Linked DNA regions of Homo sapiens: regions 2, 3, 4, 5, 6 and 7 are each linked to region 1. Evidence: promoter capture Hi-C in 16 types of primary human blood cells and fetal thymus (Javierre and others, 2016). All regions are on one chromosome and are shown on one strand. The core of a region is centred on a gene start or on the middle of the fragment in contact, and the rest is flanking DNA. Distances in the headings are between cores, read along the strand shown. Region 1 holds the start of LEF1-AS1 (LEF1 antisense RNA 1). Region 2 has its middle 8.5 kb from the start of OSTC. Region 3 overlaps RPL34-DT (RPL34 divergent transcript). Region 4 overlaps RPL34-DT (RPL34 divergent transcript). Region 5 has its middle 85 kb from the start of RPL34-DT. Region 6 has its middle 160 kb from the start of RPL34-DT. Region 7 has its middle 180 kb from the start of RPL34-DT.

Region 1 (3,357 bases), core at 344-2,843:
CAGTGTCCTTCACCCGGACCAGAAAATTGTGGAGAATATGAAGTGGGTGGCAAAATTATTTATGGACTAAGGCAGGACTAGCAAAATGGGTAGAAAGAGAGGCTGCTCTACAAATAGGAGAGTTTGGCAAAAAGCCTGTGTTTTGGATGTTATTCGGTTCTCTGGACGTGTGTCCTCCCTTTGACCTCCTTTTCCCAGCACACAGTAGTCACAAATCTTTTACGCGGGGTTAGGTGCACCCTACCCCCGCCCCCAGCCCGCTCAAACTGGATTCAACGGGTAAAGAACACCATTCTGTTCTCTGAACGCAGGCCCCCAGCCTTTCAAAATTCGTACTCACCTCTGCCATTGGGATAGAGAAGGCAGATCTGAGGTGTTCTTAAACGCGCTGTTTAAAACCCAAAATGTCCCCGCCCTCAAAACCACACACTTTCTTTTTGGGGGTAGAAAGATGCCATTTAAGGAAAAAAAGGTATATCCTCCAAGTTTCTTTGGAGGGAAAAGGCGTTGGTTAAATCATTCGGGTGTCAGGACTTTTCTACCGGATTTCCTCCAGAGGGTTTCCCAGTTGTGGAACAAGGGTGACCAGTGGAGTGTCGGGTATCAGGGTCCATCCGCCCCCTAGACCAGCTCTGGACTAGGCTTCAAACAGCCCTCCAGCGCGGCCCTGCTCCGCGCTTTCTCTAGCCAGCACCCACGTGTCTCTATTTACTCTACTCAGGTTACCAGCTCTATCGCCCGCAGCGGGCCAGAAGACCCGATAAAGCGCCTTCCACCCTGCAGGACTAGTGCCCGGCTTCCGCTGCTTCTCCGCCTTTCTTCTGCGTAGATTTAAGGCCTGATCCGGTCCCAAACCCCAAATAAAAGTTGTGGGTTTGTTTCCAAGTGATGGCGGTTGGAGAAAACTAGAGTTGGGGGCGGTACAGCCAGGGTGTACCCTTGCGGTGGGTCGGCTCGGCGCACCCACAGCTCCCAGCTGCTAGCCCAGGCGCTGGGGCCGCAGGGACTGAACCCCGCACCGCCCCCGCAGCCCGGGTGCGCGCCCCATCGGCCGGCCTGCTCCCCGCGGCCCGGCTCACCGGTGGTAGGGACGGCCCCGCCTGCCCCAGCCCACGCCCGCCTCCCCTTCCTCCCGCCTGTGGCTCTGCTCGTCTCCACCTAAGCCTTTGGTGGTTTAACGCACTTTTGCAGAGACATCTACCAAGAGATAGCGTGTGCACTTTGTTTTCCGTCCCACGGAAGAATTTATCAGTAGCGTTATTCAGCCCTACTCGCTTTAAAGCACGGCACCCCTCAGCCCAACAAAAAGACCGAAGGCGAAACATTGTGGGTTCCTGCCCGCGAACCAACCGTTCAGCCACCGAACCCCCTAAACTGATCCATTTGGAATAAGTTACCCTGCCCCTCTACCTCCCATCCTACACACACACACACACACACACACACACACACACACACACACACTGCGGACCGGGGGCCCAGCTACGCACACACCCCAAAACAAACGAGGGATCTACTCGGGACCCTCAGCCGGGCGGCCGGGCGCCTTCGTTCCCTTCCTCCCTCTCTGAGTTTCCCAGGGACCCGCCACGCCTCTCGGAACTGGGGCAGCGGCCCGCTCACCTCGTGTCCGTTGCTGGCCGGGATGATTTCAGACTCGTTCACCAAGGAAGACTTGATGTCAGCTAAATCGCCTTCCTCTTCGGGATGACTGATCTCGGCGAAGATCTTTTCCTTCTGAGGATCGCCCTCGTCCTTGAAGGGGATCATCTCGTCCGTGGCGCAGAGTTCCGGGTCCCCCCCGCCGCCGCCACCTCCTCCGGAGAGTTGGGGCATCCCGGCGGCTCTGTAATCTCCGCTCCGCTGTGGGAGCACCCGCGCAACAGCAGGAAAGACAGAGGGGTAACTCAAGGGTGGGGGAGGAAAGGAGAGTTGGAAGGGTTCGTGCAGCAGGACAGCGGGCGGAAGCGGGGCGGGCGAGCGCGGGGCCGCCGGCCGGCAGCCGGAGCAGCTGCCGCGGCGCCCGAATCCCGGCGGCCGCCGCGCTTTCCCGCTTCGCGGAGACCGACGCAGGCGCCCGCCCCCGAGGCCGAAGGGCACTGGGCGGCGAGGGCTGCGGTAGCTGGCGACTCCGGGGGCGTCTGCGCGGCGCGCGCTAGACGAGGCTGCCCCGGCGGCCACCCCGCGACCCCGCGTCGCCGGGATTTGCGCGCGGAGAACGCCGGTTCTGGAGGGAGCACGCCTCCCCAAAGTGCAGAGGAGGGTCCGGCGGCGCGTCTCCGCGGAAACCCTCTCCACTGTAGTTACCCCGGATGCCGACTTAGTAGTTTGTTTTCCGAGAAAAGAGAGGGGATCTGGGCAGAAGGGCCCCGTTTGCCCCAAAAGAAGGTGCAAGGATCAGAAGATAACGAAACGTCCACTTCCTGAAGGGTGGGAAAAAAAGAAAAAGAAAAAGGAGCCACCCACGCTGGAGATGTCCGTTTTAGATCTTCTTATTTTCTTCCCTTTCGCTTCGGTTTTTCTTCTCGAGGCTCATTTAATCTGCTAGAGAAGGAGGAGGAGCAGAAGATGGGGGCCGAGGAGGAGGGGAAGAGAAAGAGAAGTTTGCCAAGAATAAAGTTTTTGCCGGCAAGCGCGGGGACTCCGCAGTGGAGGGCACTGCGGAGTCTCGGGGAGTCACAGCGGGGGCCTCGGGCCCAAATGCCTCTGCCCGGAGCTCGAGCCGACACACACACTCAGTCCGACCCCTCTTTGTTCCCGGCTCGAGTTTCTCAGCCTGGCTCGCCGGCTCGCCGCTCTGCACGCCTCCGCCGGCCAGCTCTGTCAAAGCAAAGAGCTGCGCCCCTTGAGTTCGCCCGGCCGAGGGGAGGGGACGCCCCGAGCTTGGCCGCGTGCGAGGCTCCGGGCGCGTCCTGGTTCCTCGGCCCGAGAGCGCGCAGCCCGGGTCCCTCCTCCGCGCCCTGCCCCGCAGGTGAGCGGCTGCGCCTCCCCACTGCTTCTCCTCCTCCCGCGCCTCGCCGGCGCTGAAAAGCTACCCACTTGCGTCGCTTCTCCTCCCTCTCCCCTCCCCCGCCTCTAGCTCTCCTTGGCTGCCCGCTGGAGGGGAGGCGGGGGGTGAGGGGGAGTCGGCGAGAAGGAGGTGGTGATTGAGGGCTTTTTTTTCTTTTTCTTTTCCCAGATCCTGTAGGACGAGTCTTGGTTTTGGGGTGTGTGAGTGTGGTGTGTGCGCGCGCGCCTGGAGGGAAGGATCAGGCAACTTGGCGAGAGAAGGAAGGACCGGGCGCTGCTTATAACCCACCGAAAGGCACGCTTTGCCCGCGTGAAACTGACAAGAAACATTGCCGCAGTGGCTTGACT
Region 2 (3,357 bases), core at 306-2,805, 470 kb after region 1:
CCCTCGCTGTCTCTCATCTGGACTTCCACACTAAGGTCCTAAAAGGTTTCTCTGCCTCAAGTCTTTCTGTCATCCCATCTATTCTTCCAAACACAATACTAATCATTTCAAGTTTTAAAATCCTTCAATACTTCTTTATGCCTATATAATGAAATCTAAAAGCATCATGACTTTGAAAGACCCTGTCTAGTCAGGCTTCTTCTTTTTTAGGTCGCATCTCCACTTTTACTCCTCCATGATCACCATCACTCTGTTACCACCTTTGGGGCTTTCCCATCTCTCTGCCTTTGCTCAGCCTTGTCCGAATGCCTGAAAGCCTTTTCCCAACCGAGGAATCCAGCTCTTCTATCAATGCTCCTGCTCAAATGTGAGCACTTCTGTAAGCCTGCCTTTTCCCTACCTGTTTGAGAATTTTTTTTTTTTTTTTTTGAGAGAGAGTCTTGCTGTGTCGTCCAGGCTGGAGTGCAATGGTGCGATCTCGGCTCACTGCAACCTCTGCCTCCTGGGTTCAAGCGATTCTCCTGCCTCAGCCTCCAAGTAACTGGGATTACACACATGCGCCAGCATGCCCAGCTAATTTTTGTATTTTTAGTAGAGGCGGGGTTTCACTATGTTGGCCAGGCCGTTCCTGACCTCCTATTCCTGACCTCAAGTGATCCACCTGCCTCGGCCTCTCAAAATGCTGTGATTACAGGCGTGAGCCACTGTGCACTGCCTACCTGTGATAATTAATCACTATTTCCTCAGGTCTCTCAAAGCCCAATTGGCCCAAACCTCCAATAGGCATGTGCTTCTCAGGCAGTTCTGCCATAGCGTGTATTCTCCTCAGACTAGGATAACAGTTTCTTGGGGATAAGAGTTATGCACTGGTTATCTTGGCACTGACAGCATTTAAGACAGCTTGTTTCTGCTACATGATCCATAAATGCTTGATGAATGAATGAATGAGTGATGAACGTTGTCATCAACAACACTACTGCCTACTGTCTTTTTGTTTGTTTGTTTTTGAGACAGAGTCTCTGTTGCCCAGGCTGGAATGCAGTGGCGAAATCTCAGTTCACGGCAGCCTGCACCTCCTGGGTTCAAGTGATTCTCGTGCCTCAGCTTCCCGAGTAGCTTGGATTACAGATGCCTACTACGACGCTCAGCTAATTTTGTATTTTTAGTGAGATGGAGTTTTGCCATGTTGGCCAGGCTGGTCTCGAAGTCTTGACCTCAGGTTATCCACTGGCCTCCACCACCCAATGTGCTGGGATTACAGGCATGAGCCACCGTGCCCGGCCCTGCCTGCTGTCATTGATTCCCATCTTGGCAAGGAAACGGAGGGAAGTGTGTGAGATTAGGCGTATTTCCACAAAACAAGTATTAAAATATGGAAAGGAGTTGTAACATAGCAAAGAAGGCAGTAGTGAATAAAAAGAACCAAATTTTACTTCCTGTTTAGCTACTTACTTCTCTCTAGCTAGCAGTAAAGACAGCATCTTGATTGGCATAATGAGATTTGTTCAGTTTCTTAAACAATGCACCCTGGCTGCAATGTAGAGAGAAATAGAGGCAGGACATCATGTGGATCTGAATTAATAAGTGGTGGTGGAGGTAGAAAGGAGGGAACAAACTAAATAAACATTAAGGAAGTACAATTGCTAAGATGACACCTTGAAGGATCAAAGGAAATGGAAGAATCGGGTTCATTTATTGATTCATTCAACTTATTTAATGAGTCCTACTATGTGCCAGCACTGTGAGAGGTGGTAGGAATTCCATGGTGAAAAATATTTTGTCCCTGAATTTGAGACACTGAGTTTCTGATATTACAATTGGCTGTGTAATGGTACATAGTAATAAACATCCAATCACTCCTACTTGAATGTAAGCAAATATGAGAAGCATTATTATGCATCTCTTACAGAATACAGCAGTGGACACCTGGGTAGAGAGACAGATGTGCTGATGTAAGACCAGAAAGTACTTTGTGTTCTTACAAAGTACTATTATAAAAGTTTATTTTAATTACAAAAGTAATATATGCTTATTACAGAAAAATTAGGAAATACAAGTAGTTTCAAAGAAGGGAAAAATAATCTATAATCACATCACATAGACACAGTCATCTTTATGTTCCTTCAGACTTTTTTCCAGTGGAAAATACATACAATAACAAATAAGCCAGTACTCTACATACAATTTTATGGTCTGATTTTCTTCATTTTAAGCCTATTGTGGAGGCCGGGCATGGTGGCTCATGCCTGTAATCCCAGCACTTTGGGAGACCAAGGTGGGTGGATTTCTTGAGCCCAGGAGTTCGAGACCAGCCTAAGCAGCATAGTGAAACCCTATCTCTACAATAAAAAAACACAAAAATTAGCCAGGTAAGGTGGCGTGTGCCTGTAGTCGCAGCTACTCGGGAGGCTGAGGCAGGAGGATTGCTTGAGCCCAGGAGGTCAAGAATGCAGTGAGCCATGACTGCACCACTGCGCTCTACCCTGAGTGACAGAGTGAGACTCTGTCTCAGAAAAAAACAGCTATTTTGGACATCTGTCCATTCCAGAAAATAAATTTCCACAGTGTGCTTTTTAATAGCTGTATAATATTACATGGTATGAATGCTTTACAATTTTTTTTAATTAGTCCACTATTTTTAATTGGGTATTTTTAATGTTTCAGAAATAACTGAAGATCAGTTGGAAAGTTACTTCACTAGTTAGACAATATGTTTCTTAAAAATAATGATGTCTCTTATGGCCCATACTAATTTAGAGCTCTGCAATGAAGGGATTCTGGGAGATGTAGTTCAGCTTAGCTAAGTTAACACAATACAAATCCACCACAGTTGATTCCTTGTCAACTAAATATCTATATATACCTTTCTGAACCACATTTGGCTTGATTTTTTTTTTTTTTTTTTTGAGAAGGAGCTCACTCTGTTGCATAGGCTGGAGTGCAGTGGAACAATCTTGGCTCACTGCAACCTCCATCTCCTGGGTTCAAGCAGTTCTTCTGCCTCAGCCTCCCGAGTAGCTGGGATTACGGGTGTGGGCCACCATGCCCAGCTAATTTTTGTATTTTTAGTAGAGACGGGATTTCACTTTGTTGGCCAGGCTGGTCTTGAACTCCTGACCTCAAATGATCTGCCCACCTTGGCCTCCCAAAGTGCTGGGATTACAGGCATGAGCCACCGCACTCAGCCTAGCTTAATTTTTTTTTTTTTTTTTTTTTTTTTTTGAAATGGAGTTTCTCTCTTGTTGCCCAGGCTGGAGTGCAATGGTGTGATCTCAGCTCACCACAACCTCTGACTCCCGGGTTCAAGCGATTCTCCTGCCTCAGCCTCCCAAGTAGCTGGGATTACAGGCATGTGCC
Region 3 (3,357 bases), core at 639-3,138, 420 kb after region 1:
CGCTTGAACCCAAAAGGCAGAGGCTCCAGTTAGCTGAGATCGCACCACTGCATTCCAGCCTGGGGAACAGAGGGAGACTCCATCTCAAAAAAACATCAAAAACAAACAAACAAAGAAAGTATATTATTGCCTATATTAAAGATCTTGTAGGGTACTAAGATCAAGATTCTGGATATGTTTGGACATTGTTCAGCTGTGGGTTGAAGACTGGGATGAAGGTGCACTGACCTTAGAACTTGCCTTTGTAACTATTACTTTTTATTAAATGACTTATACTGCATTTTTTTTATGATTCCCCTATTTTTCCTGAAAGCCAAGTATAGAAGCTAATTCTAGTTAATTTATGGTTTCATTTAATTAAGTTCCACTTAAATGAGATTTTACTGTAACATGGTCAATTGTATTATGAATTATGAGATTTATTTGGGGCAAAGTTAGCACTTACAGGCTGGAAGAAACCTAATGTCTTTAAAACTTGAAAGAAGAGTCTTCTTAGAACTTATTTTCTGGATGCCACACAGGTCTGCCTCTTTCTGATGAAACCTAATTCCAAGCATCACTTTTTATCTCTAAGAACTCCAGCTCTGATTGTGTCTTTGCTTTGGTGACACCCTGGCGGTTCCTTTCTGTTGCTCAGAATTTGTCAAAAGAATAAGGAAGATCCTGATGAGCTCAGTCTCCCTTACCCACCACTAGGTCAAGCCTCCCTCTCTGAAGAGTCCTTCTCATCCTTATGCCTGCTTCCAGAGTTGGTGGGGTTGGCTTTGGAGCAGGACTTAATTTTGCCTCATTTAAAATCATGTGCTCAATTGCTTTCTTTCTCTTAAATAATGAAAAGCCAGCAAAGAATAGCTTAATGCATAAGGAAAAATGAATTTAGAGAAATTATTCATCTGCCTGTAAATAATAGCTTCATGGATATGAGGTAGCTAATTCTCGACAATATTAGGTGCTCTTTCAATAAAAGCAAGAGAAAGAAAATATCTCAGAAATTTCTTTGTCATGCTTAAAAGTCCTCTGTCCCCCACTCCCCACAATTCCCTGTTTTTTTTTTTAGAAGGGATATTTGTTCTCTCTTATAATCTGGAAATGTATGTGCCTAATTAAAATAAGATGTACTCTTTAAATGATGAAAATAAAAAGTGATCAAAATAGATTTTTGTTATCCTTGGGGCATTGGGAGTTTAAACGCAAACTGCATGGCTTGCAGTGTGGAGAATTAATTATTGGTAATTGAAGTTGTAAGCTTAATTCCCTGCTTGCTTCAATGAAAATGAATCCTTTTATTTAATATTGAAATAAGCACCACTAACCTCATGATCTGAGACAGCACATGCACTCAGCTTTTGAGCAACAGTGAATGTTTAAAAAGCTTTATCTTTTTAACACTGAATTGTGATTAAAACAAAACAAAACAGAAACACCAGCTTGCGGGAGTGGTATAAATACATTAGCAAATAACATAATAGATGGTATTTGGGTACTCTTAATAGATGCTGTTCTTATTCACCAGTAAGAGACTTCATTTTGTATTCAAATAAAAGTCTAAACCATTAAAAAATGCATTTATGCTTTTTGAAAACTTGTCCTGAGTAAAATATTTTCGTTGGCTTGTTTTGTCATGTTGAAGCAGGGTGACCGTTCAAACTGTTGGGCAGAAAAATTTCTCTGCCCTGTGTTTCTGCTGTGAGGAGTTCTTGTCTTCCTGAGGAAGCATTACAGCTAATCATGATGTGGACTTTGCCTCCTGCCCAGTTCTCTTGCTGTGTCTGTGCCCCTCTGTGTCTCAAGGAATGTCTCTGGGTATTTACACTGACTGTTCTGTGACTTAGATCTGGTAGATTTCCAGGCCCCCTATTCTATGCCTGCTCTTTGCCTAATTAACATCTACTCCTCTCTCAGATCTCAACTCAAACATTACACCTGAGATTAAGGCAAGCACTCCTCTCTTATATTCTTACCACAGTAAATCATGTTGCAATTACTTGTTTCATGCTTGTCCGTTCTGCCAGAGCACAAGTTCCAAGAAGGCAGGGTCTGCCTTGTTCACGGGTAGAGGTCCAGTAACTAGTTCAGAGCCTTGCATATATGGGGGATCAAGAAACATGTTTGAGTGAATGAATGAATAAATGAATGAATGGTGAATGAATGTTAATCAAGGTTGGTCTGAGCAACACTTGGCAAAATTCCCAGTTTATAGTCCTGAAGTATCCATAACTCTTACAATACAATTAATAATTCATTTTTCTCATTTTTAAATAGGAAATGAATGGGATTAGTATTTTCTGACTTTCTATTTATTGTACTTCATACTTAGTCCTCAGTCAACATTTCCTAAAAGACAATTTATCCATATTTCAGTAAGTAACATCTGTAATTGTGTAATAAGTAACACAAGAAAAATTAAGCTTGTTGTTTAATGTATTTATTAGAGAAAAACCTAGATATTGAAATTCCTTCAAATGAAACAGTGTTGTTTGAATTTGCTCTCAGTGGAACCTATCATTTCTGACCTAGGAGAGGTCTGTTCTTTAAGCAACCAGCCTCTGTGTCCACAAAGTTTGGTCATGGTTTGTAGAAAACTCCTTTGGGTCAGCTCCAAGGGCCAAGTTTGCTCAGATTGCTCAAACTTTCAAAACTATTTTTCTCAAAAGCACAGGGCTTAAATGAACACTTGTTTGATCTAAATATGGTTTCACATTGTCATGGAGAGAAAATAAAGGAGACAGAAGAACGCTTTGGTCTTTATCTCAGTATCCTGAAACTTCTACTTCATTCATTTTTAAAAAAGGAGCAAAAGTAGATCTAAATGGTTTTCTGGGTTAAGATGGTAGACTAAACCACACATCTAATTTTGCTGCTCTACAAAATTCCATAAAACTTGAGTAAAGTGATTTTCTTGAAAAGGTACAACTCACATGAAAAAAACACAAAAACAAAAAAAAGGAGAAACTAAAAAACAAAGAAAAAACTGGAAAAAAAAAAAAAAAGGCCGGGCACGGTGGCTCACGCCTCTAATCCCAGCACTTCGGGAGGCTGAGGAGGGCAGATCACTTGAGATCAGGTGCTGGCCAACATGGTGAAACCCCGTTTCTACTAAAAATACATAAATTAGCCAGGCATGGTGGTGGGCGCCTGTAATCCCAGCTGCTTGGGAGGCTGAGGCAGGAGAATCACTTGAACCTGGAAGGCGGAGGTTGCAGTGAGTTAAGATCACACCACTGCACTCCAGCCTAGGTGACAGAGTGAGACTCTGGAAAAAAAAAAAAAGAAGAAGAAAGAAAGAAAGAGAGAAAGAGAGAGAAAGAAAGAAAGAGAGAGAGGGAGGGAGGAAAGAAGGAAGGAAGGAAGAAAGAA
Region 4 (3,357 bases), core at 429-2,928, 390 kb after region 1:
CAACAGGAATAAAAGGCAACAAATAATTCCATTAAAAAGTGGGAGAGGCTGGGCGCAGTGGCTCATGCCTGCAATCGCAGCACTTTGGGAGGCCAAGGCAGGCAGATCACGAGGTCAAGAGATAGAGACCATCCTGGCCAACATGCTGAAACCCCATCTACTAAAAATACAAAAACTAGCTGGGTGTGGTGGTGCGCCTGTAGTCCCAACTACTCGGGAGGCTGAGGCAGGATAATTGCTTGAACCCGAGAGGCGGAGGTTGCCGTGAGCCAAGATCTCACCACTGCACTCCAGCCTGGTGACAGAGCGAGACTCAGTCTCAAAAAAAAAAAGTGGGGGAAAGCACATGAATAGATATTTCTCAAAAGACAACCTACAAATGGCCAACAGGTATATGAAAAAATGCTCAAATGCTCAACATCACTAATCCATCAGAGAAATGCAAATCAAAACCACAATGAGACATCATCTCACCCCAGTCAGAACGGCTATTATTAAAAAGACAAAAAAAAAATGGATGTTGGTGAGGATGTGGAGAAAAAGGAAGTTGTATACTCTGTTGCTGGGAATGTAAACTGGTGCAGCCACTATGAAAAACAGTATGGAGATTTCTCAAAAAACTAAAAACAGAATTCAATCCAGCAGCCCCACTACCAAGTATCTATCCAAAAGAAACCAATAGATCAAAGGGATACAAAGCATTTGCATTTTTATTGCAGCACTATTCACAATAGCAAATACATGAAACAAACTTAAATACCCATCAATGGATGAATAGGTAGAGAAAATGTGGTAAATATACACAGTGGAATACCATTTGGCCATAAAAAAAGAATGAAATCATGTCATTTGCAGCAACATGAATGATCATTATATTAAGTGAAGTAAGCCAGGCATAAAAAGATAAATATTGTATGTACTTACTTACATGTGGAAGCTAAAAAATTTGATCACCTAGAGGTAGAGTGGAAAGAGATAATGGAGATTGGGAAAGGTGACTGGGGGAAGGAGAAAGAATGAAAAGAAATAGGTTAAAGAGTACAAACATGCAATTAGATAGAAGAGATAAATGCAATGTTTGATAGCAGAGTAGGGTGACTATAGTTAACAAAAAATGTGTTGTACTCAGGTGATGGACATCCTAAATACCCCAACTTGATCACTGTGCATTACATACATGTAACAAAATTTCACATGTATCCCAAAAATTTGTTTAAAAAAATTAAAAAGAAGAAGACAGCGGAACTAAATAGGGGAATCCTACATAAGAGAAAGGCAAAAAGAATCCCCAAAATGCAATGTGAAAGAGATATCAGGATTACAACTGTGAAGCCGCTCTAAGAACAGAGATCAAGGAATAGATAGATGTCTATGATTTTTAAAATAATAATAACCTTGCTTAAATAATTAATGTGTCAGAACATAGTGAGAAGAGAAGATTTATACTGTGGGGGATCGGGGGAGAATTAATGATAATTTAAAAATGAAAAAGAGGTGCATAGAATCAACACATTGAAGAGAAATTTTGCACTAGACACTTGTTAAAAATGGCAAGGAAGACTTTACTCAAGACTATTGCAATAGAGGAGAGAGATTGAACTCAATTCTAAATACAACAGGGATAACAACCTAAGTGACAAGAGTGAGACCCTACCTCAAAAATCAATCAATAAATAAATACAACAGGGATAAGTGGGAATATATATTCAAGGGGCATGATGAGGGAGTCATTGGATAGAAACATACTAAAGAGGGACTTGGTTAGGTATCAACAACATTGGGGGAGAAGAACTTGATTAGACATCAAGGGTAGGGAGGAGAGCTTGATTAGATATCAAAGGTGGTGGGATTCTCTATAAACTGGCTAAGCAGTATCCAAAGCTAAAACTAGACTTGGCAAGCCAAAGATTGGGCCAAAGAGAAAGTCTAGTCAAAGGAGGGCTCAGAGGAGCCTGACTACATTTGCTCAATAAGGGAGTCTTTGTCAAATGAACTATTTCCTTCCCTTCCTTTCTTTCCTTCCTTCCTTCCCCACTTCTTTCTTTTGTTCATCCTTTCTTTCTTTTGTTCTTTCTTTCTTGTCTGTCATCCAGGCTGGAGTGCAGTGGTGCCATCATAGCTCACCGTAACCTTAAACTCCTAGGCTTAAGAGATCTTCCCACCTCAGCCTCCTGAGGAGGTGGGATTACAGGTGCATGCTGCTATGCCTGGCTAATTTTTTTTTTTATTTCTGTTATTTTTGGAGATGAGATCTCAGTATGTTGCCCAGGCTGGTCTTGAACTCCTGTCCTCAAGTGTTCCTCCCACCTTGGCCTCCCTAAGTGTTGGGATTACAAGTATTACATGCCACAAGGCATGACTATCTTTTAAAAACAAATGCAAACTGTTTGCTTTGTTATTTTTAATACATTTTTACAGATTATTTCTGTAAACCAAAAATAAAATTCTATGACCCCCGCAACCATTTGAATGGACTCCCTCCTCTTGGCCAGGGCACTCCTAAGATAACCTGAAAGACTGGTTCAGGCCATGACGGGAATGGCGGATTGGACATGCCTCATTATGCCGTCCTCCCTTTTGGAATTCAGGAAAAGCTGACCAGCATTTAACATCAACACAAACCCTAAGTCTGATAAGAAACATTTGCAATGTATTCTCTTTGAAACTTGCTACCTGGAGGCTTCGACTGCATGATAAAACCTTGGACTGCACAACCACTTATCACAACCCAGACTTTGTTTTCTACTGATAAAAACTCTTTCAATCAATTGGCAATCAGAAAATTTTTAAATCTACCTATGACCTGGAAGTCCCCACTTCAAGTTGTCCTGCCTTTTTAGATTGAACCGCTGTAAATCTTACATCTATTGATTGATGTATTATTATGTCCCCCTAAAATGTATAAAAGCAAGCTGTACCCTGCCACCTTGGGCACATGTTGTCAGGACCTCCTGAGGCTGTGTCTCGGGTGTGTCCTTAGCCTCGGCAAAGTAAACTTTCTAAATTGATCAAGACCTGTCTCAGATACTTTTGGGTTCACATTTCACACACAGAAATTGTGAGAACAAATTTTTATGGAGGCCTAGAAGAAAGCACTATAAACTTTGCAAAATAAGTGCAGGAGAGGCAGGTGATAGTGATACAGCATTTCCCCCAATAATTACCCCCCCAAAAATGGCTGGTGCACTGAAGAAAACTTTAATTCCCCTACAGTTTTAACTAGGCTCAGCCATGAACATGGGGAAGGCTGGCATTTGTGCAATGACACTGGGGTTCTCCACTACATGTCTGGTCATCCTATCAGTACCTTAAACCTGCCCACAACCAGTTCCTAAAAAGGAAAAGCAGTGTTCTTTT
Region 5 (3,357 bases), core at 357-2,856, 370 kb after region 1:
TGCTCCCTGAATTCTCCTCCCCCTCCAAGAAAACATGAACCTCGACAGATTTGTGGTTCATGTTATCTTCAGCTGTAAAAGCCAGCTGAACCAACAGAGCAGCCCTTCTCTGTTTCCTGCTGCCTAGAGGTTTCAAAAGGGCTACTGTAAAGGAACGGTTACCTCTTTGGCCTTATGGACAACTTTTTTAGAAGAAACAGATTCAACTAGAATCACCCAGGCTAAGAACTCTGTACATTGTAGAGTTCTGTGCAAATGAAATCAATTAATATTGGGAGTTCTTCCATGCCAATTAAAGAAAGGATGGGCAAGGACAGGAAAGTAAAAACAGCGCCTGAATGCTGCTTTTTAAAGAAGTGATTTAAAAAAAAAAAAAAAGTTCAAGGATTTGTCCATTTCTTCAGTGAGGCCCAACATATGAACTTCAGTGGGAATTTGGCCCGAGGATAGATTGCCACATCAGACATTGATTCAGTTAAAGCTAACCCATTTAAAGGTGTCACCCATTAATTTATTGACTGCAAATAGGAATTTTGCCCAAGGCCAGAACTCACAATTGGTCCCAGTTGACCTGAAATGGATTTCCACAAGTGGCTGGGGAAAGGGAGTCTCTTTTTAGAATGTCTCTTCTTTGGTCCACTGTCTCTTTCTTTATCCTCTCTCCCCCTTTATGACATTAATAACAGAGCACTCAAAGAGCTTCATTAGTCGAAGGCATACAAACAGCTGCTCAAAGGATTTGTGACTGGATTGATCCTAAAGCTGCCAGTATAGACATTACATGTCAAAAATGATGATGTGAGCTTATCAGCTGCTTTTCAATTTTGACATTATTCTCTTTTCATTCTTGCCCATTTCATGTTATTGATTAAGTGTTCATTTAGTAAAAGAAAATACTTTACTCTTACAGAGTGGCTCTTTGCAGTATGTTGAAAGTCTTGGTTTATACATGTTTTCACATAAATATAAAATTATTTTTTATTCCTGAAACACATTTTTAACATGCAAGCTACAAAAGAAAGAATATTAAAATAGTATTTTTCTAGTATATGTGCTGCCAAGACGAGCACTAAAATAGTATTTTTCTGTGTGATGCCATATGTAGCATTCTTAATCAATAGTCTCACCTAGACAGGAAAATGAATACAGTAGTCATTTTATGAAGCTGCAAAGTGGGCCAATGTTTTGCTAAGATTAAAAAGTGACTCTTCTCTCCAATTTGGGGGCCATTTTTCAAATTTTCTGTGGCATGTAGCTAAATTCAAGCTGCATACATAAGACCTGGAGACCCAAAGGCTAAAAACCAAATTATTTCTACCTTAGAGAAACAATTGCATAGGGTATACAAGGAAGCATATACAAGGATGCAGCATTTATTTGCAGTAGCAAAAAACAAACAATAACTTGGAAACCACTTGTAGATCATAGAGGAATGACTAAATAAGCTATGATCCATCTAAGCCACAGAACACTACAAAGTAGTTCAAAGGAATGAGATGGAGCTTGCATACTGATAAGGATCCATCTCTAAGACATAAAATTTTTTAAAAATATATTGTTTATATTAAAAAGACATACTTACAAACATGAAACAATACTACGTAGTTTCTACCTAGAAAAAGGTCTGTTAAGAAAATGTAGTAAACTGGGAGAGGTTGGGATGATTTGAGATTAAGAATAGTGGTGAAAGCCAGGTGCAGTGCCTCATGCCTGTAATCCCAGCACTTTGGGAGGCTGAGGTGGGCGAAACTCTTGAGGCCAGGAGTTTAAAACCAGCCTGGCCAACATGGTGAAACCTGTCCCTACTAAAAATTAAAAAAAAAAAAATTAGCTTGGCATGGTGGTGTGCACCTGTAATCCCAGCTAATCGGGAAGCTGAGGCATGAGAATCACTCAAACTCAGGAGGTAGAGGTTGCCCTGAGCCGAGATTGTGCCTGGGCAACAGCGCAAGACCCTGCCAAAAAAAAAAAAAAAAAAAAAAAAAAAAAAAAAAAAAGAAGGGTAGTGGTGAAAGGGGAGTTTAGCCTGACATATAATATTTTCAGTTTTTACAAAGAAACTGTATCCATGTTATTTATATAGTTCAAATTTAAGTCCTTTTAAACAGTCACAGTATTAAGTGGTACTTTAAAAAGCATTGACTTCTTGCATTGCTTATTTAACTAAACCCCAATATTGTCCTGAAAATCAGCTCTTTTTATGAGAGTTATTTAGTCCTGAGGTTCTGTTGTAAAGGAGCAGTGGGAAGAAAGAGGATAAACAAGCTAGAATTTGAATTAAACTTCAGCATGGAATAAAACACCAACTTCCTTCCTTCTCCACCCTCTCTTGGATCTGAGCCCATCACTGTACTTCTCAGTGGCCACCCTACGCACCCTGACAGACATAGAATTCTAGAACCACAAAGCACCTTACAAAACCTTTGCGTCGACCCCTCATGTTTAGGTGAGAGTGCTGGTTTGCTCAAGTTAGAATCTGTTGTTCCTCTTGACTCATCCTATTCTCTATAGCCTCATTTTATAACCCTTTTGGGAGTGAAATGGAGTTGGGCTCAGTCCTTTCTGTTTAACTGGACAGAACTCCTCTCACTAATTTCAACAGAGAAAACTGGTGCTTTTTCAGAGCTGTTTACTTCCATTCTCTGGGGAATTAGTTTGTTTAATTGTATTTTGAAGATTCCAGTTCTACAGAACTCGATTTCTTTAGTTTATCTCTCTTAAACTCTCAACTTCTCTCCCCCTCTCACTCTCTCTTTCTGTCTCATCTTTGCTTTATTTTTGTCTTCCAATCTCTCTGCTTTTCTCTGTCTCCATGTATTTCTGTCCCTTTCCAACCTTATTCCTTCTGTCATGAACATGTTCTATTTGTTTTTTGGAAAGATGTTCTACAAAGTAAATTTTTATGAGATAAATTTTAGTAATACTTTACTAATTAAAAATATCAACTCAAAAAAAGTTAAGACCGGAAGGTAGATTTAGTTTTAATGAAGTGTTCTTCTTTTACCTTGCTTTTATGTTGCTCCTTTTTATCTCTTCATCAAGGAAACTGTATTCCTTCAAACCTCAGAGTATAATAAATAACTTACAAGGATGCACAATTGTACATTACTCTCTTGACAGGGTGACTCAACACTGATAGGTATTATCTATATTCTTTAAATGGTTCCCTGCAGGACTAAGCCCTGTGCACATACAGAAATACAAAAGTACACAGGATAAAATGTCTGGAGGTGACTAAGCTGGCCCATTGTTATTTCCTTGCAACAACAGTTTGCTTATGAAATTCAAGTACTTTCAAAATGACATAAGCAACTGAGGAACACATGTCAACGCTCTGTGATCTGGAGCCTTCCAAGG
Region 6 (3,357 bases), core at 339-2,838, 290 kb after region 1:
AATGAAAGACTCATTTTACTGACTTCAGTAAGTGGTTTATAACACTCTTTCAGTGAAGGTGAGGGAAGCAAACACTCTCATACATTGTTAGTATGAGTGTAAATTGGTACAGTCACCATGGGGGGCAATTTTCTTTTATACTCTTAGATCCAGGTGAGGTCACTTTGGAAAATTTGTCCACCAGATATACTTGCTGCTATGCTTTTAATGAATCCCCTCCAAAACTTAGGTGTTGCCAATGTGGTTGTATTAAGAGATGAGGCCTTTAAGACGCGACCAGGCCATGAAGGTGCCACCCCTATGAATGGAATTAGGTGCCATTATAAAGGTGTTTGGCAGAGGGAGTTGTTTCTCTCTTGCCCTCTGCCTTCTACCATTTGAGGCATGGAAATAAGGTCCTCACCAGATGCTGGTGCCTTGACCTTGTACTTACCAGCCTTGAGAACTGTGAGAAATAAATTCCTGTTCTTTTTTAATTACCTAGTCTTGGGTGTTCTGTTACAGCAGCACAAAATGAACTGAGACATTTGCACATATGCAAAATGATGTATGGTATATATAATTCTGAATTCTGCTATGTCATTCATTAAGACATTTTTTCTCAATTGGAAAAATATTGAAGTAAGCAAAACCTCCACCAATAGCGGACTAGTTAAATAAATTATGGTACTTCAGCCTAAAGGAATATTATCGGTTAATGTAAAGAATTGTGAAGAACTCTATGCACACATCTCTGTAAGACGTATTGCGACATGAAAAATGCAAGGTGCAGCACCATGTGTATAGTGCTCTAAACTTTATGGTAAAATGTGAGAAAATAGAGAATAGGTGCTTGAGAATAAAAAAGTCAAAAATAATGCAGCAATATTAAGTGTGAAAATTATCCACCACCTCTAAGGTTAGAAAAACACAGGGAAGATGTTGGTGTTATCATAACCTAGAAACTTGAAGGGATAAGCACATGGAGCTGGGACTCATACCTCTGAGAAGGAGAACCACCGGGCTGGTGCTGACATCTCTGATGGGAGTGGTGGGAGACTATCTTAGTCTGTTTTGTGTTGCTATAACAGAATACCACAGACTGGGTACATTTATAAAGAAAATATATTTATTTCTTATAGTTATGAAGGCTGGGAAGTCCAAGGTTTAGGATCTCACATCTGGCAAAGGCCATCTTGCTATGTCGTCCCATGGCAGGAGGTGAAAGGGCAAGAGAGCACATTTGCCAGAGAGGAAGGGGGCCAAAGTCATCCTTTATCAGGAACTCATTCCCACAATAACTAATCCATCCTGGCAATAATGACATTAATTGATTTATGAGAGCAGAGCCCTCATGGCCTAATCCCCCCTTAAGGGTCCCACCTCTCAACACGGCTGCACTGAGAATCAAATTTCCAGCCCCTGTGAACTTTGGGAGACACATTGAAACCATAGCAGTATGAAACCACATTGAAACTGAGACTGGTTCTGGGAGTGCAAGTACAAGCTGGAGATAGGAACAAATTGCTCCACCATGCTTCCCCTTTCTGCCTTTCAGTCTTCCTCTATTACTCCCTATTGGCAAAATCTAACAGAGAACGAGCTGACAAAGGAAAAATGTAGTTTCCTGAGTCCCAGCATGGAGTGTAGAAGGATGGGTTTAAAGCTGAGAGGTGATAGCTTAATAACTAGCACAGTAGATTCAATAAGAATGGCCAAGGTGGACATAGGATCATCATGTGGCTGTTGGAATTAGTGCATTTGCAAGTGATCATGCCTTTCCGCCATCCTCTAGACCTGCCCCTGCCCACTATAGCCTGGGATTAGCACTGGCACCAGGAGTGAAGTCCCGATTCACACCAGTATATTATGTCTTGTCTGTGGACCAGAGCCTCTGTGGGACTTTTGGAAAACATTATTTTTTTATTTTTTTGAGACAGGGTCTCACTCTGTCACCCAGACTAGAGTACAGTGGTGCAATCTTGGCTCACTGCAGCCTCCACCTCCTGGGCTCTAGTGATACTTCCACCTCAGCCTCTGAGTAGCTGGGGCTACAGGAGCACACCACCAAACCCGGCTAATATTTTTGTATTTTTGGTAGAGATGGGGCTTCACCATGTTGCCCAGGCTGGTCTAAAACTCCTGAGCTCAAGCGACCCAGCACAAACATTATTTTTATTTACTCTTCCAATATCATTTGTGATTAATAATACTGTCAGTGCATTACAAGCAAGAAAGTTGAGTAAGAAAAATAAATATTTCTAAATAAAGGATCTCCGTCCTCCTCTTCTCTCCTGCGATTTCTCCCTCCTACTCAGTCTGTCAGACAATGGAGGGTTAGTTGAACCAAACAAACAAGTGGTTTGAGCCACTCACTTGGAAGCACCCATTGGACCTTATTTGGGATGGATGAGGTGGCCTGGCATAGTCTTGGGGGAAATAAATTGGGACCTGCTCCTTAATCCTAAAGTGCCTGGCCTCAGGAAAACTGACATCTCAAATGCCTTCCTGTCTCCACTCTCCAGTTTCCTTTTTCCTGCACCCATCTTCAGGTGTCCAGTCCTGAAGGATGGCCCTGTCTCAGCAGCCAAATGAGATTTGCAAGAGGAAAGACAACAGTTCCCACCATCTTCTTGAGTCAATAGCTGAAGCTGAAGGCAAATAAAAAGCCCTGTGATGCAATTCCAAAGGAAATGCTTAGAGGAGTGGGTTTCACATGTCTCCTAGAAAGGCAGAATTTGTCTATCCCAACAAGTTTTTAAAACATGTTTGTTAATCACATCAATGCCTTGCCAGCTCCTCCCTGCCCCTTAATGTTCTCTATTCAGGTCAAAGAATATCCTCCTTGCACCGCCCTTCTCCCTGTGACTTGGTGATTAGAGGGACGACTAATTTAAGTGCATGTCCTCTTATCTTGAGGCAATATTTCACAAAGGAAAGTCTTAAAAATCCAAGATAAACTTATTTTTATAATAGCTATGATGCCAAATAAATGGCGAGCAGCCCTTTACTGAGTTTTATAGAGTAGAAATATCTTCAAAACAGTAATAAATTAACAATAATAAACAATAATGAATTAACCAAGACATAACATTTGCCCTTCAAGTGTCTCAGCTGGATATATAAACAACAGTTGTGCCCTCTTTAAAAAAATCTCATCATAAAAAAATGCAAACTTACAAAATAACCAAATTAGCAATTGATTACCTATGTTATGAAGGAATCTCTGTAAAATAACCATAAAAGATCCTTTTGGCCAGGCCCTGTGGCTCACGCCTGTAATCCCAACACTTTGGGAAGTGGAGGCTGGCAGATTTCTTGAGTCCAGGAGTTTGAGACCAACCTGGACAACATGGCAAAACTCCATCTCTACAAAAA
Region 7 (3,357 bases), core at 276-2,775, 270 kb after region 1:
CTAGCTTCAGTGGTCTTTACAATTTGGCATGTTTTTGCAGTGGCTGGTACTGGTTGTTCCTTTCCATGTTTAGTGCTTCCTTCAGGAGCTCTTTTAGGGCAGGCCTGGTGGTGACAAAATCTCTCAGCATTTGCTTGTCTGTAAAGTATTTTATTTCTCCTTCACTTATGAAGCTTAGTTTGGCTGGATATGAAATTCTGGGTTAAAAATTCTTTTCTTTAAGAATGTTGAATATTGGCCCCCACTCTCTTCTGGCTTGTAGAGTTTCTGCCAAGAGATCTGCTGTTAGTCTGATGGGCTTCCCTTTGTGGGTAACCCGACCTTTCTCTCTGGCTGCCCTTAACATTTTTTCCTTCATTTCAACTTTGGTGAATCTGACAATTAAGTGTCTTGGAGTTGCTCTTCTCGAGGAGTATTTTTGTGGCATTCTCTGTATTTCCTGAATCTGAATGTTGGCCTGCCTTGCTAGATTGGGGGAGTTCCCCTGGATAATATCCTGCAGAGTGTTTTCCAATTTGGTTCCATTCTCCCCGTCACTTTCAGGTACACCAATGAGACGTAGATTTGGTCTTTTCACATAGTCCCATATATCTTGGAGGCTTTGTTCGTTTCTTTTTATTCTTTTTTCTCTAAACTTCTCTTCTCCTTCATTTCATTCATTTGATCTTCCATCACTGATACCCTTTCTTCCAGTTGATTGAATTGGCTACTGAGGCTTGTGCATTCATCACATGGTTCTCGTGCCATGGTTTTCAGCTCCATCAGGCCCTTTAAGGACTTCTCTGCATTGGTTATTCTAGCTAGCCATTCATCTAATCTTTTTTCAAGGTTTTTAACTTCTTTGCCATGGGTTTGAACTTCCTCCTTTAGCTCCGAGTAGTTTGACCGTCTGAAGCCTTCTTCTTGCAACTCGTCAAAGTCATTCTCCGTCCAGCTTTGTTCCATTGCTGGTGAGGAGGTGCATTCCTTTGGAGGAGGAGAGGTGCTCTGATTTTTAGAATTTTCAGTTTTCCTGCTCTGTTTTCTCCCCATCTTTGTGGTTTTATCTACTTTTGGTCTTTGATGATGGTGACTTACAGATGTGGTTTTGGTGTGGATGTCCTTTCTGTTTGTTAGTTTTCCTTCTAACAGTCAGGACTCTCAGCTGCAGGTCTGTTGAATTTTGCTGGAGGTCCACTCCAGACCCTGTTTGCCTGGGTATCAGCAGCAGAGGCTGCAGAACAACGGATATTGGTGAACAGCAAATGTTGCTGCCTGATTGTTCCTCTGGAAGTTTTGTCTCAGAGGAGTACCCGGCTGTGTGAGGTGTCAGTCTGCCCCTACTGGGGGGTGCCTCCCAGTTAGGCTACTCGGGGGTTGGGGACCTACTTGAGGAGGCAGTCTGTCCGTTCTCAGATCTCAAGCTGTGTGCTGGGAGAACTACTACTCTCTTCAAAGCTGTCAGACAGGGACATTTAAGTCTGCAGAGGTTTCTGCTGCCTTTTGTTTGGCTATGCCCTGCCCACAGAGGTGGAGTCTACAGAGGCAGGCAGGCCTCCTTGAGCTGCGGTGGGCTCCACCCAGTTTGAGCTTCCCGGCTGCTTTGTTTACCTACTCAAGCCTTGGCAATGGCAGGTGCCCCTCCCCCAGCCTCGCTGCCATCTTGTAGTTTGATCTGAGACTGCTGATCAGATTGCTAGCATTGATCAGTGCTAGCAATGAGCGAGGCTCCATGGGCGTAGGACCCTCTGAGCCAGGCGCAGGATACAATCTCCTGGTGTGCCATTTGCTAAGACCATTGGAAAAGCACAGTATTAGGGTGGGAGTGACCTGATTTTTGAGGTGCCTTCTGTCACCCCTTTCCTTGGCAAGGAAAGGGAATTCCCTGACCCCTTGCACTTCCCAGGTGAGGTGCTGCCTTGCCCTGCTTCGGCTCATGCTCAGTGTGCTGCACCCACTGTCCTGCACCCACTGTCTGACACTCCCCAGTGAGATGAACCTGGTACCTCAGTTGGAAATGCAGAAATCATTTGTCTTCTGCATCATTCACACTGGGAGCTGTAGACTGGAGCTGTTCCTTTTCAGCCATCTTGGCTCCACCCCCCCAATCCCTGGTAATTTTCACTCAAATAATCGTTATTTGTTTTTATCTTGCCACAATTTTGACCTGCTCACTCAACTCTATTCTGGTCAATTTGGGTTAGGGTGATTGTCCTTTTCACCTCCTCTTGTAAACCCCTCTTACGATGGCCATTTTCTGCATAGAAGCTCGAAGAGCAGGAGTTTGAGTCAGAAGCTGGCATTCTAGAGACACAGCTTCTAGCACTGGCTCTGCCATTAATAGCTTGTATGCTGGGAGGCTGAGGCAGGTGGATCACCTGAGGTCAGGAGTTGAAGACCATCCTGACCAACATAGTGAAACCCCATCACTACTAAAAATACAAAAATTAGCCAGGCGTGGTGGCACACACCTGTAGTCCCAGCTACTCAGGAAGCTGAGACAGGAGAATCACTTGAACCCAGGAGGTGGAGATTGCAGTGAGCTGAGATCGCACCACTGCACTCCAGCCTAGGCAACAGAGTGAGACTCCATCCCAAAAAAAAAAAAAAAAAAAAAAAAAGCCTGTATGACCCAGAGCAAGTCATATCATCTGTTTGAGCCTTTGTATCTTGGTCTTCAAAAGACAAGGTTAGGCCAGATCATTTCAATGGTACCACTTGGCATCAAAGTATGACTTTAGAAAAGTGTCCAAATGCTTGAGGCAATGGGGAAAAGAATGAGGCACAAATAATGTATATGGAGTGCTCAATCCTATAAACCCGTCAGAGTTGAATTTACAATGACCAAAATTGTGGTGCTTAGAATAACTTACCATGCAATCTTTTGTATGGCAGTGTTAAAGCTTTAATTCTCAAAATACTAGTGTGCTGCAGTGATAATTATATTTGTGTAAATCAAATCCCAACTACGAGACTACAAACTGTTCTGACTGTGGAAATGGTAAAAGAAGGAATAGGATTTATACATATCATCTTGCAGTTTGGATTCAGGTGTACCTATATTTAAAGCAAATAAGTTGCACTTAAAAGGAAAACAATCTTGTTTATCTTTGTATGTCTGTGGTGGAGAGCAGCTGTAGTTGCTTTTCTCTCCCAGGAGCCAACCGTCTCTCCCCATCTGAGGAGTCGGTCAGTGCTTTCAGCCACTCACTGGCTTTTGTGTCTTTCACAAGTTCTGCCATGCTCCAAACACGGGCTTGGCAGTTGCCTTTGGGCTTTCTAGAGTTGTTCTTACTAGTAAGGCAGAAAGACCTCTCTTCCCAGCCTACATTTTCAGCTGTAGATTGAAGTTTTTGTATGGGGTTTCCTTCCCTTGCC

The links. Contacts are between HindIII fragments. The CHiCAGO score rates a contact against its expected background, and 5 or more counts as called.
Region 2: a contact is called between a fragment that was not itself captured here and the fragment with the promoter of LEF1-AS1 in region 1, in 3 of 17 cell types (fetal thymus, naive CD8 T cells and activated CD4 T cells). The highest score is 13.0, in fetal thymus.
Region 3: a fragment that was not itself captured here is called in contact with the fragment with the promoter of LEF1-AS1 in region 1 in 9 of 17 cell types (fetal thymus, activated CD4 T cells, naive CD4 T cells and 6 more); the score reaches 19.8 in fetal thymus.
Region 4: a contact is called between a fragment that was not itself captured here and the fragment with the promoter of LEF1-AS1 in region 1, in 6 of 17 cell types (activated CD4 T cells, naive CD4 T cells, non-activated CD4 T cells and 3 more). The highest score is 11.9, in activated CD4 T cells.
Region 5: a fragment that was not itself captured here is called in contact with the fragment with the promoter of LEF1-AS1 in region 1 in 7 of 17 cell types (non-activated CD4 T cells, fetal thymus, total CD4 T cells and 4 more); the score reaches 18.9 in non-activated CD4 T cells.
Region 6: a fragment that was not itself captured here is called in contact with the fragment with the promoter of LEF1-AS1 in region 1 in 4 of 17 cell types (non-activated CD4 T cells, total CD4 T cells, naive CD4 T cells and 1 more); the score reaches 11.2 in non-activated CD4 T cells.
Region 7: a contact is called between a fragment that was not itself captured here and the fragment with the promoter of LEF1-AS1 in region 1, in 4 of 17 cell types (non-activated CD4 T cells, activated CD4 T cells, fetal thymus and 1 more). The highest score is 6.9, in non-activated CD4 T cells.

The regions. Positions count from the first base shown.
Region 1 is chr4:108,165,932-108,169,288 of GRCh38, forward strand. It overlaps LEF1-AS1 (LEF1 antisense RNA 1), which reads left to right and starts at 1,594. Exons shown (of 3, transcript NR_029374.1): 1 at 1,594-1,902. LEF1 (lymphoid enhancer binding factor 1) reads right to left here and starts at 3,001. Exons shown (of 12, transcript NM_016269.5): 1 at 1,624-3,001. The coding sequence starts at 1,836. LOC124900752 reads left to right here and starts at 2,008. Exons shown (of 2, transcript XM_047416528.1): 1 at 2,008-2,971; 2 at 3,179-3,357. The coding sequence starts at 2,569. RefSeq lists silencers at 955-1,194, 2,951-3,000 and enhancers at 1,072-1,573, 2,601-2,690. The HindIII fragment of the contact is 8,163 bases long and covers 1-3,357 here.
Region 2 is chr4:108,640,392-108,643,748 of GRCh38, forward strand. No RefSeq gene overlaps it. Among named protein-coding and RNA genes, the nearest start is that of OSTC, 8.5 kb to the right of the region's middle. The HindIII fragment of the contact is 8,651 bases long and covers 1-3,357 here.
Region 3 is chr4:108,588,402-108,591,758 of GRCh38, forward strand. All of the region lies in intron 1 of RPL34-DT (RPL34 divergent transcript), which reads right to left. Among named protein-coding and RNA genes, the nearest start is that of RPL34-DT, 30 kb to the right of the region's middle. The HindIII fragment of the contact is 1,036 bases long and covers 1,371-2,406 here.
Region 4 is chr4:108,551,688-108,555,044 of GRCh38, forward strand. All of the region lies in intron 2 of RPL34-DT (RPL34 divergent transcript), which reads right to left. Among named protein-coding and RNA genes, the nearest start is that of RPL34-DT, 67 kb to the right of the region's middle. The HindIII fragment of the contact is 3,606 bases long and covers 1-3,357 here.
Region 5 is chr4:108,533,567-108,536,923 of GRCh38, forward strand. No RefSeq gene overlaps it. Among named protein-coding and RNA genes, the nearest start is that of RPL34-DT, 85 kb to the right of the region's middle. The HindIII fragment of the contact is 4,477 bases long and covers 1-3,357 here.
Region 6 is chr4:108,457,350-108,460,706 of GRCh38, forward strand. No RefSeq gene overlaps it. Among named protein-coding and RNA genes, the nearest start is that of RPL34-DT, 160 kb to the right of the region's middle. The HindIII fragment of the contact is 5,288 bases long and covers 1-3,357 here.
Region 7 is chr4:108,439,507-108,442,863 of GRCh38, forward strand. No RefSeq gene overlaps it. Among named protein-coding and RNA genes, the nearest start is that of RPL34-DT, 180 kb to the right of the region's middle. The HindIII fragment of the contact is 2,709 bases long and covers 172-2,880 here.